4 separate regions of the Homo sapiens genome follow, and all the other regions are linked to region 3. The links are contacts of gene promoters, found by promoter capture Hi-C in human tissues and cell types (Jung and others, 2019). All regions are on one chromosome and are shown on one strand. Each heading gives the region's core, a stretch centred on a gene start or on the middle of the fragment in contact. The rest is flanking DNA. Distances are from core to core; before and after follow the strand shown.

Region 1 (3,675 bases), core at 921-3,420, 290 kb after region 3:
TCAGCAGGGAGAACACAACCCCAGGACCACCAGAGAGTGGGTCTCAGGCCCCCCAGGCCCAGCCCCAGCCTTGGACCCCTCCCTCCCACACACATACTCCACGCATGAGGCAGTGGACGGCCCACCCCACCAACAAGGGGTACCTGGAGCTGCCCCACTTTCTGAGCCACACCTAACCTTTGCAAGGTCCAAGAAGAAGAAGACATCTGCCCTCCACATGCAGCTGAGATGACCAGTCTCAGTGCACAAGTGCAGGTATGAAACAAAAGACACATTTGTATGTCCTTTGATGCAATTAAATCCAGCGAGCCCCCATCCTACCGGGCTGGTAGAAAACTTGACCTTTGTAATTACTGGACTCCTCCTCAGACTTGTGCAAAGGTCCAGGGGCCTTTTGCAGAGCCACCATTGGCCCATATGGATGCCTGCTCTGGGAGGACCTGGATTTGCACCAGGACACATGCCAAGTGGCATATGGGCTGGAATTCAGCCCCTGCATTCCCACTGGGCACCCTGGGTGCTGCTCTGGAAGCTGCCTGCCTCCACCTCACTCCAGTCTGAGGATATCTCCTTCTCTCCCTCAGTGCCTTCCAAAGGTGCTCCCCTCCCTGCCTACCTTGCAGAGCTCTTTTTGCAAGTTTAGGCTCTGACCAAAAGAGTAGAGCAACTGCCTGTAAGTAGCTTCTCTTCCACCCAGCAAGATTCCCAGAGTGAGAAGAAAAAATACTAAAGCCCTGGCAGTTTCCTTTAAAAAAGAGAAAGATGGCCTGGCGCAGTGGCTCACACCTGTGATCCCAGCACTCTGGGAGGCCAAGGCAGGAGGACTGCTTAAGCCCAGGAGTTCGAGACCAGCTTAGGCAACAAAGTGACACTTTGTCTCAACAAAAAAAAATTTTCTAAATTAGCCAAGCATGGCATGAGCCTGTGATGCCAGCTACATGGGAGACTAGGGTAGGATTGCTTGAGCCCAGCAGCTTGAGGCTGCAGTGAGCCATAATCGTGCCTGTCTCAAAAAAATAAAAACAAAACAAAGCGATATCCTGTCTCAAAAACATAAAAACAAAATAAAATAATTTTCAAAAAGAAAAAAATATAGTGAGAACAAACACAAATTAACTTTTTTTCTTTTTGAGACAGGGTCTCCTTCTGTTGCCCAGGCTGGAGTGTCGTGGTGAGATCAATGCTCACTGCAGCCTTAATCTTCCAGGCTCAAGTAATCCCCCTACCTTAGCCTCCCTAATAGCTGGGACCACAGGTGTGCATCACCACACCCAGCTAATTTTTTAAAAAAATTTTCTAGACACAAGGTCTCACTATATGGCCTAGGCTAGTCTCAAACTCCTGGACCTTGGCCTCTCAAAGTGCTGGGATTACAGACATGTGCCATTATGCCTGGCCTAATTCTTGATATATTATCCTGCTCCACACTCATAAACGCAAAGGCTCAGTGCAGTTTACATCAGTGCTGTTCATGACTCAATTTTGGTTGGGTACCTCATAACTGTTCCAGTTTTCTCTTGTCGTGTAATAAAGAACTTCAATACTTAGTGACTTAAAACAAACAGTAATTGCATTATTAATTATCAACTAGTTGAATGTTGTTATTGTAATTCATTCATTGCATTATTATTCATATTAATTATTTTATTTTTTCTTATTATACTTTAAGTTTTAGGGTACATGTGCACAACGTGCAGGTTTGTTACATATGTATACATGTGTGCCATGTTGGTGTGCTGCACCCATTAACTCATCATTTAGCATTAGGTATATCTCCTAATGCTATCCCTCCCCCTTCCCCCACCCCACAACAGTCCCCAGTGTGTGATGTTCCCCTTCCTGTGTCCATGTGTTCTCATTGTTCAATTCCCACCTATGAGTGAGACAAGGCGGTGTTTGGTTTTTTGTCCTTGCGATAGTTTGCTGAGAATGATAGTTTCCAGCTTCATCCATGTCCCTACAAAGGACATGAACTCATCATTTTTTATGGCTGCATAGTATTCCATGGTGTATATGTGCCACATTTTCTTAATCCAGTCTATCATTGTTGGACATTTGGGTTGGTTCCAAGTCTTTGCTATTGTGAATAGTGCCGCAATAAACATATGTGTGCATGTGTCTTTATAGCAGCCAGATTTATAATCCTTTGGGTATATACTCAGTAATGGGATTGCTGGGTCAAATGGCATTTCTAGTTCTAGATCCCTGAGGAATCGCCACACCGACTTCCACAATGGTTGAACTAGTTTACAGTCCCACCAACAGTGTAAAAGTGTTCCTATTTCTCCACATCCTCTCCAGCACCTGTTGTTTCCTGACTTTTTAATGATCGCCATTCTAACTGGTTTGAGATGGTATCTCACTGTGGTTTTGATTTGCATTTCTCTGATGGCCAGTGATGATGAGCATTTTTTCATGTGTTTTTTGGCTGCATAAATGGCTTCTTTTGAGAAGTGTCTGTTCATATCCTTCGCCCACTTTTTGATGGGGTTGTTTGTTTTTTTCTTGTAAATTTGTTTCAGTTCATTGTAGATTCTGGATATTAGTCCTTTGTCAGATGAGTAGGTTGCAAAAATTTTCTCCCATTCTGTAGGTTGCCTGTTCACTCTGATGGTGGTTTCTTTTGCTGTGCAGAAGCTCTTTAGTTTAATTAGATCCCATTTGTCAATTTTGGCTTTTGTTGCCATTGCTTTTGGTGTTTTAGACATGAAGTCCTTGCCCATGCCTATGTCCTGAATGGTATTGCCTAGGTTTTCTTCTAGGGATTTTATGGTTTTAGGTCTAACATGTAACTCTTTAATCCATCTTGAATTAATTTTTGTATAAGGTGTAAGGAAGGGATCCAGTTTCAGCTTTCTACATATGGCTAGCCAGTTTTCCCAGCACCATTTATTAAATAGAGAATCCTTTCCCCATTGCTTGTTTTTGTCAGGTTTGTCAAAGATCAGATAGTTGTAGATATGCGGCATTAATTCTGAGGGCTCTGTTCTGTTCCATTGGTCTATATCTCTGTTTTGGTACCAGTACCATGCTGTTTTGGTTACTGTAGCCTTGTAGTATAGTTTGAAGTCAGGTAGCGTGATGCCTCCAGCTTTGTTCTTTTGGCTTAGGATTGACTTGGCAATGCGGGCTCTTTTTTGGTTCCATATGAACTTTAAAGTAGTTTTTTCCAAGTCTGTGAAGAAAGTCATTGGTAGCTTGATGGGGATGGCATTGAATCTATAAATTACCTTGGGTAGTATCACCATTTTCACGATATCATTTCCCTCTTAACAATTCATAGAACAACAGATGGAAAATCATGAAGGATACAGAATTCAATACCTACAACCAACAGGATCTAATCGGCATCCAACAATCCACCCAACAATAGCAGAACACACATTGTTTTCAAGCACCAATGAAATATATACCAAGATAGACCACACCCTGAGCCACAAAACAAACCTCAACAAACTAAAAAAACAACTGAAATCATACAAAATGTGTTCTCTGACCACAGTGGAATCAAACTAGAAATCAACAGTATAGAGATAACATGAAAATCTCTGAACCCTTTGAAACAAAGCTATACACTTATAAATAATTCATGTGGTCAAAGAATAGATCTCAAAAGAAATTTAACAATATATTTACTTTAATGAGAATAAGAATACTCCATATTAACACATGTGG
Region 2 (3,625 bases), core at 1,113-3,612, 330 kb after region 3:
TCCATGAAGTTCGGCTTCCTACAATGACTCGGGTTTTTTTGTTTGTTTGTTTGTTTGTTTGTTTTTGAGACAAGGTCTCACTAACACTACCTAACACTAATCAGTCTATGGGCAAAGACTGTGTCTTATTCAGGTCTATGTCCCCAGACCTAGCACTCCTGGGTTCTGCAGTCCTTGCCCCCAGGACACCACCCCCTCCCTGAGAACCACTCCCTTGCTCCTAGCCCAGTTCTGAAGGCAGCCATTTTTCACTGCAGAGACCAGCCCTGCCCCTCCCGAATTTAACTAGACGGGAACCCACAGCGTGTCATACAGCACAGTGGCCCCAGGATGGCAGTAGATGCCCATGTGTAAGATCTCTGGCCCAGCCTGAGCCTCCTTTAAAGGGTAATTTACTTGCATGTGTCTCTTCCTCCAGGCCCTTGTCCAGGGGCTTTCCATCCATGAACCAAGATATTCCCCACAATATCCCCATAGGGAGGAATTATTCACCATCATTTACACACGAAAGATCATGTTCATCCTTTGCCCTTCATGGCCGCTTCCTACTCTTTGGGGAAAAACCAAAAACCTTACATGCGTAGTTTAAACCTATCCAGTAGATGTCCCTATGGGTCAGGCTGCAAGAGTTCAAATTCCAGCTTCCCCACTTATTACCGGTGTGACTTTGGTTGGATTTCTTGGCTTCTCTTGGACCTCAATGTGCTCATCCATAAAATGGGGTAATGAAGTAGAACCCACCTCCTTGCAGGGAGGAGTGAGGATTGCATGAAATAATACACCTAAAATGTACAATCCAGTAGCTGGCACGCAGCAAGTGCTCAGCAAATGTTAGTCACTCTTATTACCATGAGTCTCATTGGCCTCTCCTCCTGGGAGAAACTAATTGTCCTCACCCTCTGCATCAGGACCTTTAAGAAAGAAGAATGTGGGCCGGGCATGATGGCTCATGCCTATAATCCCAGCACTTTGGGAGGCCAAGGCAGGCGGATCACTGGAGGTCAGGAGTTTGAGACCAGCCTGGCCAATATGGCGAAACCCCATCTCTACTAAAAATACAAAAATTAGCCAGGCGTGGTGGTGGGCACCTGTAGTCCCAGCTACTTGGGAGGCTAAGGCTGGAAAATCGCGAACCCAGAAGGCAGAGGTTGCAGTGAACCGAGATCACGTCATTGCCCTCCAGGCTGGGTGACAGCAAGACTCTGTTGAAAGAAAGAAAGAGAGAAAGAGAGAGAAAAAAAAAAAAAGGAAGGAAGGAAGGAAGGAAAGAAGGAAGGAAGCAAGGAAGGAAGGAAGGAAGGAAGAAGAATGTGGGCCAGGCACAGTGGCTCAAGCCTGTAATCCCAGCACTTTGGGAGCCAGAGGTGGGCAGATCTCTTGAGGTCAGGAGTTCGAGACCAGCCTGGCCAACATGGCAAAACCCCATCTCTACTAAAAATACAAAAATTAGCCTGGCATGGTGGCGGGTGCCTGTAGTCCCAGCTACTTGGGAGGCTGAGGCACAAGAATCCCTTGAACTCGAGAGGCAGAAGTTGCAGCAAGCCGAGATCACACCACTTCACTCCATCCTGGGTGACAGAGCAAGAGAAATAAAGAGAGAAAGAGGGAAGGAGAGAAAGAAAAGAAAGAAAGAAGGAAAGAAGGAAGGAAGGAAGGAAAGAAAAAGAGAAAGAAAGATGAAAGAAAGAAAGAAAGAAAGAAAGAAAGAAAGAAAGAAAGAAAGAAAGAAAGGAAGGAAGAAAGAAAAAGAAAGAGAAAGGAAGGAAGAAAGAGGTTGAAAAGATATCAAATCAAAGGCAAATTAAACTTTAAAAAGGGCCAGATGTGGTAGCTCATGCCTGTAATCCCAGCACTTTGGGAGGCCGAGGTGGGTGGGATCATGAGGTCAGGAGATGGAGACCATCCTGGCTAACACAGTGAAACCTCATCTCTACTAAAAATATAAAAAATTAGCCAGGTGTAGTGGCATGCGCCTGTAGTCCCAGCTACTCAGGAGGCTGAGGCAGGAGAATCTCTTGAACCCAGGAGGCAGAGGTTGCAGCGAGCCAAGATTGCGCCACTGCACTCCAGCCTGGGCAACAGAGACATACTCCATCTCAAAAAAAAAAAAAAAACTTTACAAAGGAAAATGTTCCTCCTAAAGGATATATGAAGATACTTAGCATTTTCAGCAGTCAGGCTTTGATTGATTCATTGATTCATCCATTCACTCACTTACCCACTGAGTCATGCAACAGACATTTACTGAACATCTGCCATTCCCTGGGTCTTACACTTGGGTGTGGGGCAAAGCAGATATAGTAACAGATATTCATTGTCAGTGCATTTTTATTGAGCACCTACTCAGCGCTAGGCACTGTTCTTGGTGCTTCAGATATATCAGTGAACAACACAAAGGTCCCTGACCTGGTAGAGCCCATCTTCTAGCAGGGGCAACAGGATAAATAAGTTAAATGCTGCATTACAAAGTGATACATGACCAGGCACAGTGGCTCACGCCTGTAATCTCAATACTTTGAGAGGCTGAAGCAGGTGGATCACTTGAGGCCATGAGCTCCAGACCAGCCTAGGCAACACAGGGGAGACTCTGTCTCTATACAACATTTTTTTAAAAAAACAAAATTGGCCGGGTGCAGTGGCTTACGCCTGTAATCCCAGCACTTTAGGAGGCCAAGGCAGGCAGATCGTGAGGTCAGGAGATCAAGACCATCCTGGCTAACACGGTGAAACCCCATCTCTACTAAAAAAAAAATACAAAAAAATTAGCTGGGCATGGTGGCGGGCGCCTGTAGTCCCAGCTACTCGGGAGGCTGAGGCAGGAGAATGGCGTGAACCCGGGAGGCAGAGCTTGCAGTGAGCCGAGATCACACCGCTGCACTCCAGCCTGGGTGACAGAGCGAGACTCTGTCTCAAAAAACAAAAACAAAAAAAACAAAACAAACAAAAAAAAGAAACAACAAAATTAGCCAGGCGTGGTGGCGCATGCCTGTAGTCCCAGCTACTCAAGGAAGCTAATGAGTGAGGATCACTTGAGCCTAGGAGGTCAAGGCTTCAGTGAACCATGAGCACGCCACTGCAATCCAGCCAGGGTAGCAGAAGAAAACCTGTTTCCAAAAATAAAAATAAATTAAAAATAAAATAATATATGTCATGGTAAAATAAATAGAGCTGGGTAAGAGGGGTAGATTAGAGTATTAAATTGGGAGATCAGAATGGGCCTCATTGAGAAAGAAGCATTTAGCAAATCACCTAAGGGAAATAAGAGAGTTAGCTATATGGACAACAGAGGAATAGTGTTCACAGTAGAGGGAACAGCCAGTGCTCAGGCCTTAGGGTGGAATGTGCCTGGTGTGTTAAAAGAATAGCAAGGAAGCCAGTGGCTGGAGCAGACTAAGCAAAGGGCAAAGTAGTAGGTGAGGTAGGGAAGTAAGAGGTCAGGATGGTCACATAGAACCTTCTAGGCCACAGGAAGGACTTTGGCTCCCCTCTGAGTGAAGTGGGAGCCTTTGCAGAGTTTGAAAGCAGAGGAGTAGCACAATCTGACTCACATTTTTTTTAAGGCAGGGTCTTACTCTGTTGCCCAGGCTGGAGTGTAGTGGTATGATCATAGCTCACTGCAGCCTCA
Region 3 (3,397 bases), core at 57-2,556:
TTTCCCTCCTGTTCACCCATTGCAGTTAACACTTAATTTCCACCAAGCTGCATCCACAAGCCCAGTGAATTTCCATCTCCAAGCACAGATGTCAAGAGGGCCTCCAGCTCCTGGTGCTTGCTAGTCATCATGTCGTCTGAGACGCAGCCACAGGGAGAGACTGATATCCTAGTGCCAGGGATGCCGGCTTCCAGGTCTGCATCTGCCACCTCCATGAGGCATCGGCCCCAGCAGTCACGTCTTTCTGTGACATTTATCACAGAAGCAATGAAGCCTCATGTCATTCCGTGTTTAACACCAGTCTCCCCCCGTAGAAGGGAGGCCCCATGGGGGCAGGGACCATGGCTGATTTGCTAAGAGCTCTCTCTTCAGTGCACATGGAAGCAAACACTAAATATTTGTTAAATGGTGGGTCTCCCCTCTGGGCCTCAGTTTCCTCGTATATAAAATGAGGAGGATGGGCCGAGTAACCTCAGCCCCTCTCCGGCCCTAACTTGGCGTGATTCCAGGATCGAGAAGAAGCAACAGGCCCCTGCCTGGGCCTATTATTGTCATCAGCGTCCAGCCCTGCTGGAAGCAGAGGGAGGGGTATCAATAAATAATGAACACATTTAAAATTCATTATGAGATTATTTTCTGAGAACAGGGAAAGAGCAGGGGCACAGAATGGGAAGGAAGCAGAAGAGATGAGCCCAGAAAGGGGAAGCCTGGGACATGAAGTGATATTAACAATGAACACGTGCACAGCCCTTTACAGTTTACCCCCAGACACTTCCTCCCCCATCATTTCCTCCATTATCCTCCCAGTGGCCTGTGAGATCTGTATCTGTAGAGCAGGTACAATTATGGTCCCATCCTATAGCAGAGAAAATTGGGGCTCCCTTGACTGACAACACATCAACTGGCAAGTGGCAGAGGCGGGATTGGAATCAAAGGCTCTGACTGTAAGCCAGCACTCAGGCAGCGGGCCCGCCACATGATGCTCACTGAGGAACACCCCTGCCCAGTGTAGAAGAAGATCACGAGGTCAGAGAGCCTGGGAGGGTGAGCTGTGGATGTTCCCCCAGGACAGCGTGTTCTCCCCACAGCTGCTGAGTTGGCAGAACCAAACTTGCCACCCACCCGTCTCATTTACAGTAAATCCAGTGGGTTGCAGAAATAGGACCTGAAACTGCCTGAGGGCAGCAGGGTGGGGGGACAGTGAGGGGACGGGAAAGGGGCCAGCCTGCTGGTCCATGGGAGGGGACCGTCAGGGGAAAGCCCTTCCCGCCTCTGGGGAAGGGAACTTCCGCTTCGGACCGAGGGCAGTAGGCTCTCGGCTCCTGGTCCCACTGCTGCTCAGCCCAGTGGCCTCACAGGACACCAGCTTCCCAGGTGAGGACGGGGCTTGGCGCCTGGGGGAGGCTGGCAGGGCCAATATGGCAGAAAGTGGTGATTCCGTAAGTGTGAGCTTTGCGTCACCTGCCTCGGAGCCAGTTAGGCTGTTTAACAGTGCAGGTAGCTGGGCCCAATCCCAGACCTATGGGACCCAGATCTCTGGGGTGAGTTGGGGAGTCTGCTGCTACCCAGGGCCTAGCGGATGGGCAGGCCACCTAAAGCGGGAGCCTGGCACATAGGAGCTTTGGCATCGCAGAGACTTGAGCTGAGTCTGGCTCTGCACCTTATGTATTGGTTATCTTGGGCAAGTCACCTAACCTCTCTCAGCCCGGCCCCCCTACAGAGAACAGAATCTTTCAGCACTGCTGTGCCTTACAGGAGATCAAGCTTGCAAAAGCTTAGTGCATGCCCTGGCTCAAAATTTATCAGTAAACCAGAGGCAGGAGTGGGATTATAAGCCAGTCGCTCCTGCCCGGCCCAGCATTTCCCCAACACCTTGCTTATTTCCTCATACTCGCTGAGAAAGCTCAGCTTGACTCTTCCAAAGAAATAAGGGGATGTGCAGGTAGAGTTACGATGAGTTCTCAGCTAGTACTGAGTGAGCGCAATGTTTGTGCAGCTGGGGAGTGGGATGTGGCACTGCACGGGGCAGGGGGGACCTTATTTCTTCTAAGCGCCTTCTCCTGTCATCCTTCTGGCAGCCCTGTCAGGTTGAAATCAGCATTGCCAAGAGGCTCAGAGAGGTTAAGGCACTTGCCTGAGGTTATGCAGCCGGTAGCAGATGGGGCTTTAAAGTCAAGTGGGCCTGACTCCATGTTGCGGAAAGGGACTGCTGGACCGAAGGAGATGGAAAGGTCAGAGCCTGGGGGGAGGACAGGAGAAACCGCGCTGGCAATGATGATGGGCTGGCACAGGCAGGAGGCAGTTAAACCAGATGAGTTGTAAGCCCTAACCCAAGGCTGAAACTCGGTGGCTTTTGAAATGGGCTAGAACCAGCACTTTCCCACTCCCCCTGCCCCTGGCTTCCCCAGGAAGCCCAAGTCCTGTCAGTACCCTGCTCCCCACCCTCTCTCCCCACCAACTGGTCACAGCTCTCCACCCCTTGCTGCCTCCAACTGACAGAGCCCCTCCCTCTAAACACAGTCTTTCAAAGGGATTGTCTTTTTTTACTTCTCCAACCATCTTCCCTTCTGTTCAACCACTCAGGAATTCTTGGATGACAGTGATAATAATAAAATAGCTAATATTCATTAAGAATTTCCAACATGCCAGGCTCTGTTGGAAGCTGTAACTCATGTCCTCGCACATACCCTATGAGGGAGAGAGTAGCATTATCCCCACTTTATAGGAGGGTAAACTGTGGCCAGAGAGAAGGAGTGATTTCCCAAGTCCCTTAGCTAAGAAGCAGTAGAGACCTTATGTGAACGCTGAGTGTTGCTTTCCTTGTGACACTACAGGCTCCCGCCACCAGGTGAATGTGTGCTGCCTAACAAGAGCAGCAATCATCGTGGTGGTAAAAAGCCACTTTCACCGAACACTGACCATGTGCCTACCACTACCCTTGGTGTGTCCCATGCATTAGTCCTTTTATCAGGCTGTCTGGCTTCAAAGTTTATGTTTTTACCACCAGGTACAGTGGCCTCTTAACATAACATTGAGTTTTAAGATCCAGTGGATGTGGGTTTGACTCCCAGCCACACAGGAGCTGTGTGACTTTTATCAAGGTGCTTGCCCTCTCTGATCCCGTTGCCTCATCTGTAAAATAAGAAAGCAAGAGTGCATTCTCAGGGGCTGAATATCAAATTACAGGGGATAATGGCATGCAAGCCATCTGGCTCAGAGCCTGGCCTATACGTACCCAACTTATTAAAGTTGTTAAATTGCCATTTTGTAAAACCTTTAGCAAGAGCAAGAGTGAGAGCTGATGCTTATTCATGGATAAGCAGGACCATGCCCCTGAGCCACCCTGTCTTCAGAGCATAGAGCCTGACAGAACCTAAAGCTGTCACCAGCATTCCCT
Region 4 (3,644 bases), core at 806-3,305, 390 kb after region 3:
TGTGTGTGTGTGTGTGTGTGTGTGTGTGTGTGTGTAAAACTTAAATCTTGATAATAATCTTTTAAGTTAAATCATGAGAATGACAGACTTTGGGACTTTCTAACATAGTTTTTTTTTCTTTCCTTAAGAGAATAATATAATTGAAATTCTTGCATCGGCTGTTGAGTTATAAGAAATGTTTTGTAAGCTTTGTTATTAACCAGACACACCTTAAGCTTGGTAGTTGGACACATAACATCTGAATTGTAAGCTTTCTCTGGAACATTTTGAAAAGTGAACACAAACCAAGACTGCAGCAAAATAAGTAAGGATCAGGAAAATTTCTACTATGGAATGTGGAGGGAAATAATATGTGAAAAAGTAAATTCTTTCCATTGGCTTCTAAAGCTTTGCATTTCTCCCTAGCTTGTAGGGCCTTTTACTTTCTTTTGATAAGATCCTTGCTACTACCCAGTGGAAGTCTTCAAGCACATATCTGTGGTGTTATTGTTCTTTCAGCAGTTCAGTGGAAGTTCCAGGCAAGCTCCTGCTTCAAGCAAAACAATTTTTCTTTTTTTCTAAACCTTAAGAAGGCTGTTTTACTTCAGTATTTTACATGATACTGTAACCCAGGGATTGCTATTCTAGTTGGAACTCATAATTTCATTTTGACTGTTGCTCAGGCTGGTCTTGAACTCCTTGTTGTAAGTGATCCTCCTGACTTGGTCTCTCCCAAAGTGCTGGGATTACAGGTGTGAGCCACTGTCAATTCCTTTTTGAAACTGTGACTTTCCTTATGTTCATGAGATTAATCATGCATTTATGACTGCTTCAAATTATCTGAGCCTATTATTACTTCCATGCTATTTTGAAGTCTTTTAGCCCCATTCTTACTTCTGAGTTCTATTGTTTAATTTCCAACCATCTTTAGAACATTTCCATTTAATTGTATTAGCCAGTCTCCCAAATTTCCCATTTTGTTTGTAGCATTACTAGTCTTCTGAACTTAAAACCCTAGAGTCATCCTGAAAGTTCTTTATCCCTTTTACCAAGTCTGTTGTAAAGTCATGCATCTTACTGTGCAGTCTTTTTCATTTTTTAGGCCTTACCCATTTTTACTGTCACCTTTTTCTAGTGAATTTCAACTTGTATGTAAATTATTTCAATAGCCTTTGAATTGGATCTCCTTTATCTAGGTTTTCCCTCTAATCCATCTCGTACAAAGTGGCCAGATTAGTTTAACTAAAATAGCATTTGTTTTGTTGTCTTTGTGCCAAAGATCACACACTTTTCCTTCATTACTACTAAAATCACGTTCAGGTTTGGGTACTGGAAAGGGATCATTTTACCAATCCACTTGATCTCCCACTGCTTTTTCAGACCATCTCCTTCTGAAAGTAGGTACCGAGCAGTCCTCTGCACATACCATGTCTGTGCTTTTCTCTTTATCTTTGTAAATGATCTGGACCATAGTCGTGGTTTCACTGCCTCGCAGTCTATCCAGATCTCTCGGGAATTGTTCTGAAAGCTTCCCTGATTCTCCAAGACTGTGTCAGCTTCTCGTTTCTTAACAACAAAAGTTTCCTTGTAGGTATTTTTCATCTTTTCTCAACTAGATTATAAGCTTTTTGAAAACAGAGAGTCTACCTGTTCTACTTTTGTATTTGTGCTTTGCAGTTTTGGGGCAGATACGGTAAACACTGATTATTAAATAAGAAACTCAATTAGTGCGTTAATACGGTAGAGACATATATTCCAAGTTGGCTTTAACTTTTGAAATGTTTCTTTCACCTGCTAATTTATTAAATTCAATTGAAATCAGTAGGTTGGCCTTCACTTTTATTCCATAAATTTGGCCATTTTGGTAAATTTATCTTCTATTGGAAAATCGTTGCTTCCTAGATTTAGAAGTTTCTTAAAATGTTTGTAATTTGAATGTGATTCCAAGAAACTAGTCAAAATGTGAATCTGTGTTTCTGGAAACAACCAACCAGTGATTTTCACCTCCTTGTTTGTTTGCCAGATAAAAGCATTTGAAAGTCAACATAGACTTCCTTTTAAGATGTTGGAAGAGTGATCTCTTGAGTATTTGAATTCAGATGAGAAAACATTCAGTAATGTGATTATAACTACAACACTTCACGCTTCAAGAAGGACTCTTAGATCTGAAGGTCTAGAAGACAACTGAAAGGCTGTTATGTAAGATAAATCAAAAAGATCTTCATTTTCAATTTGGAGTAGCTGTGTACAAATAAGCTGTATGAAGAGTCTCTACTTTAGGCCGATTGTGGTGGCTCACGCTCATAATCCTGTTGCTTTGAGAGGCTGAAGTGGGAGGCTAGGAGTTCAAAAACAGCCTGGGCAACATATCGAGAACTCGTCTCTACAAAAAAAAAAAAAAAATTAGCCAGGTATGGTGGTACATGCCTGTAGTCCTAGCTACTCAGGAGGCTGAGGCAAGAGGATCCCTTGAGCTCAGGAGTTCAAGGTTACAGTGAACTGTGATTGCACCACTGTACTCCACCCTGGGCGACAGAGCAAGACCTTGTCTCTAAAAATAATTAAAAAATTAAAAAGAGTCTCTGCTTCAAGCTTGAGGACTATTTTGTAGGTTTGGTGGTTTGGGATAAAAACAAAAGGGAGTTTCTTGTGTAGTGGTGCCAAAATCAAGGTGATATTACAAAGTTGCTTTTGAATATTTTCATTTTCTGTTTTGAATTTGCACTCATGGAAAGCTAACAGCGCTACTTGCCTGCTGTTAATGTGTCCTGAGCCACTATCAGAAACAGAGTCCTAGGCTGGAAAGACCCAAAGAGCAGATGAATAAGGGATTTTATATATATCATAATCAGAGACTACTTGGATGAAAAGTTAGCTGCAAGCAGTGTTGTGTATGTGCTGTTTTTAAGAAAATGTTCAAGAATTGGTCTATAATATACTGCTAGTAAAGATGATCTTTCAGTTGTCTTTGGAGAAGTAGGCATCTTCAAAATACTCTCAAGTATGATTGGAGTGAAAATAATAACTTCATTCTTTATTTCCAAGCAAGTTAAACCATTATCAAGAGATAAATAACTTGTTTCTTAATTTAATTTTAAGCACTTTTAAATTTTGTTTTCCATCATTTCTTATGTGGTACCTTCTGCTTGGTTTCTTTCTACTCCTCTGCTTAAATAATACTTTTGAGTTTCTTTTCTTGCTTTTTTTTTTTTTTTTTTTTTTTTGGAGACCGAGTCTTGCTGTGTTGCCCAGGCTGGAGTGCAGTGGTGCAATCTCGGCTCACTGCAACCTCCACCTCCCGAGTTCAAGCGATTCTCCTGCCTCAGCCTCCTGAGTAGCTGGGATTACAGGTGCATACCATAGCGCCTGGCTAATTTTTGTATTTTTAGTAGAGACAGCGTTTCACCATGTTGGTCAGGCTGGTCTTGAACTCCTGACCTCGTGATCCGCCCACCTCGGCCTCCCAAAGTGCTGGGATTACAGGCGTGAGCCACTGTGCCCAGCCTGGAGTTTCATTTCTTTTTTGACATTTTGTTGTTATGGGATCCCTTTTAAAAATCTTTGCAGGGTATTGAATATTTTCTACATTTTCCTGCATTTTTTTAAATTAAAAAAAATCTTTTTAAGAGGTTTTTTAATTCCTTTCTTCAAAACCAGAAGACAAA

Evidence for each region. Contacts are between HindIII fragments. The study calls those that stand out against the background at their distance.
Region 1: a fragment that was not itself captured here is called in contact with the fragment with the promoter of C1QB in region 3 in 3 of the 25 tissues and cell types used here (bladder, liver and mesenchymal stem cells).
Region 2: a fragment that was not itself captured here is called in contact with the fragment with the promoter of C1QB in region 3 in 1 of the 25 tissues and cell types used here (liver).
Region 4: a contact is called between a fragment that was not itself captured here and the fragment with the promoter of C1QB in region 3, in 1 of the 25 tissues and cell types used here (adrenal gland).

What each region holds. Positions count from the first base shown.
Region 1 is chr1:22,936,435-22,940,109 of GRCh38, forward strand. No RefSeq gene overlaps it. Among named protein-coding and RNA genes, the nearest start is that of LACTBL1, 35 kb to the right of the region's middle. The HindIII fragment of the contact is 7,465 bases long and covers 1-3,675 here.
Region 2 is chr1:22,976,275-22,979,899 of GRCh38, forward strand. No RefSeq gene overlaps it. Among named protein-coding and RNA genes, the nearest start is that of LACTBL1, 5.2 kb to the left of the region's middle. The HindIII fragment of the contact is 8,506 bases long and covers 1-3,625 here.
Region 3 is chr1:22,651,930-22,655,326 of GRCh38, forward strand. It overlaps C1QB (complement C1q B chain), which reads left to right and starts at 1,307. Exons shown (of 3, transcript NM_001378156.1): 1 at 1,307-1,374. The HindIII fragment of the contact is 7,433 bases long and covers 1-2,869 here.
Region 4 is chr1:23,038,257-23,041,900 of GRCh38, forward strand. All of the region lies in intron 2 of KDM1A (lysine demethylase 1A), which reads left to right. Among named protein-coding and RNA genes, the nearest start is that of MIR3115, 4.2 kb to the right of the region's middle. The HindIII fragment of the contact is 3,708 bases long and covers 202-3,644 here.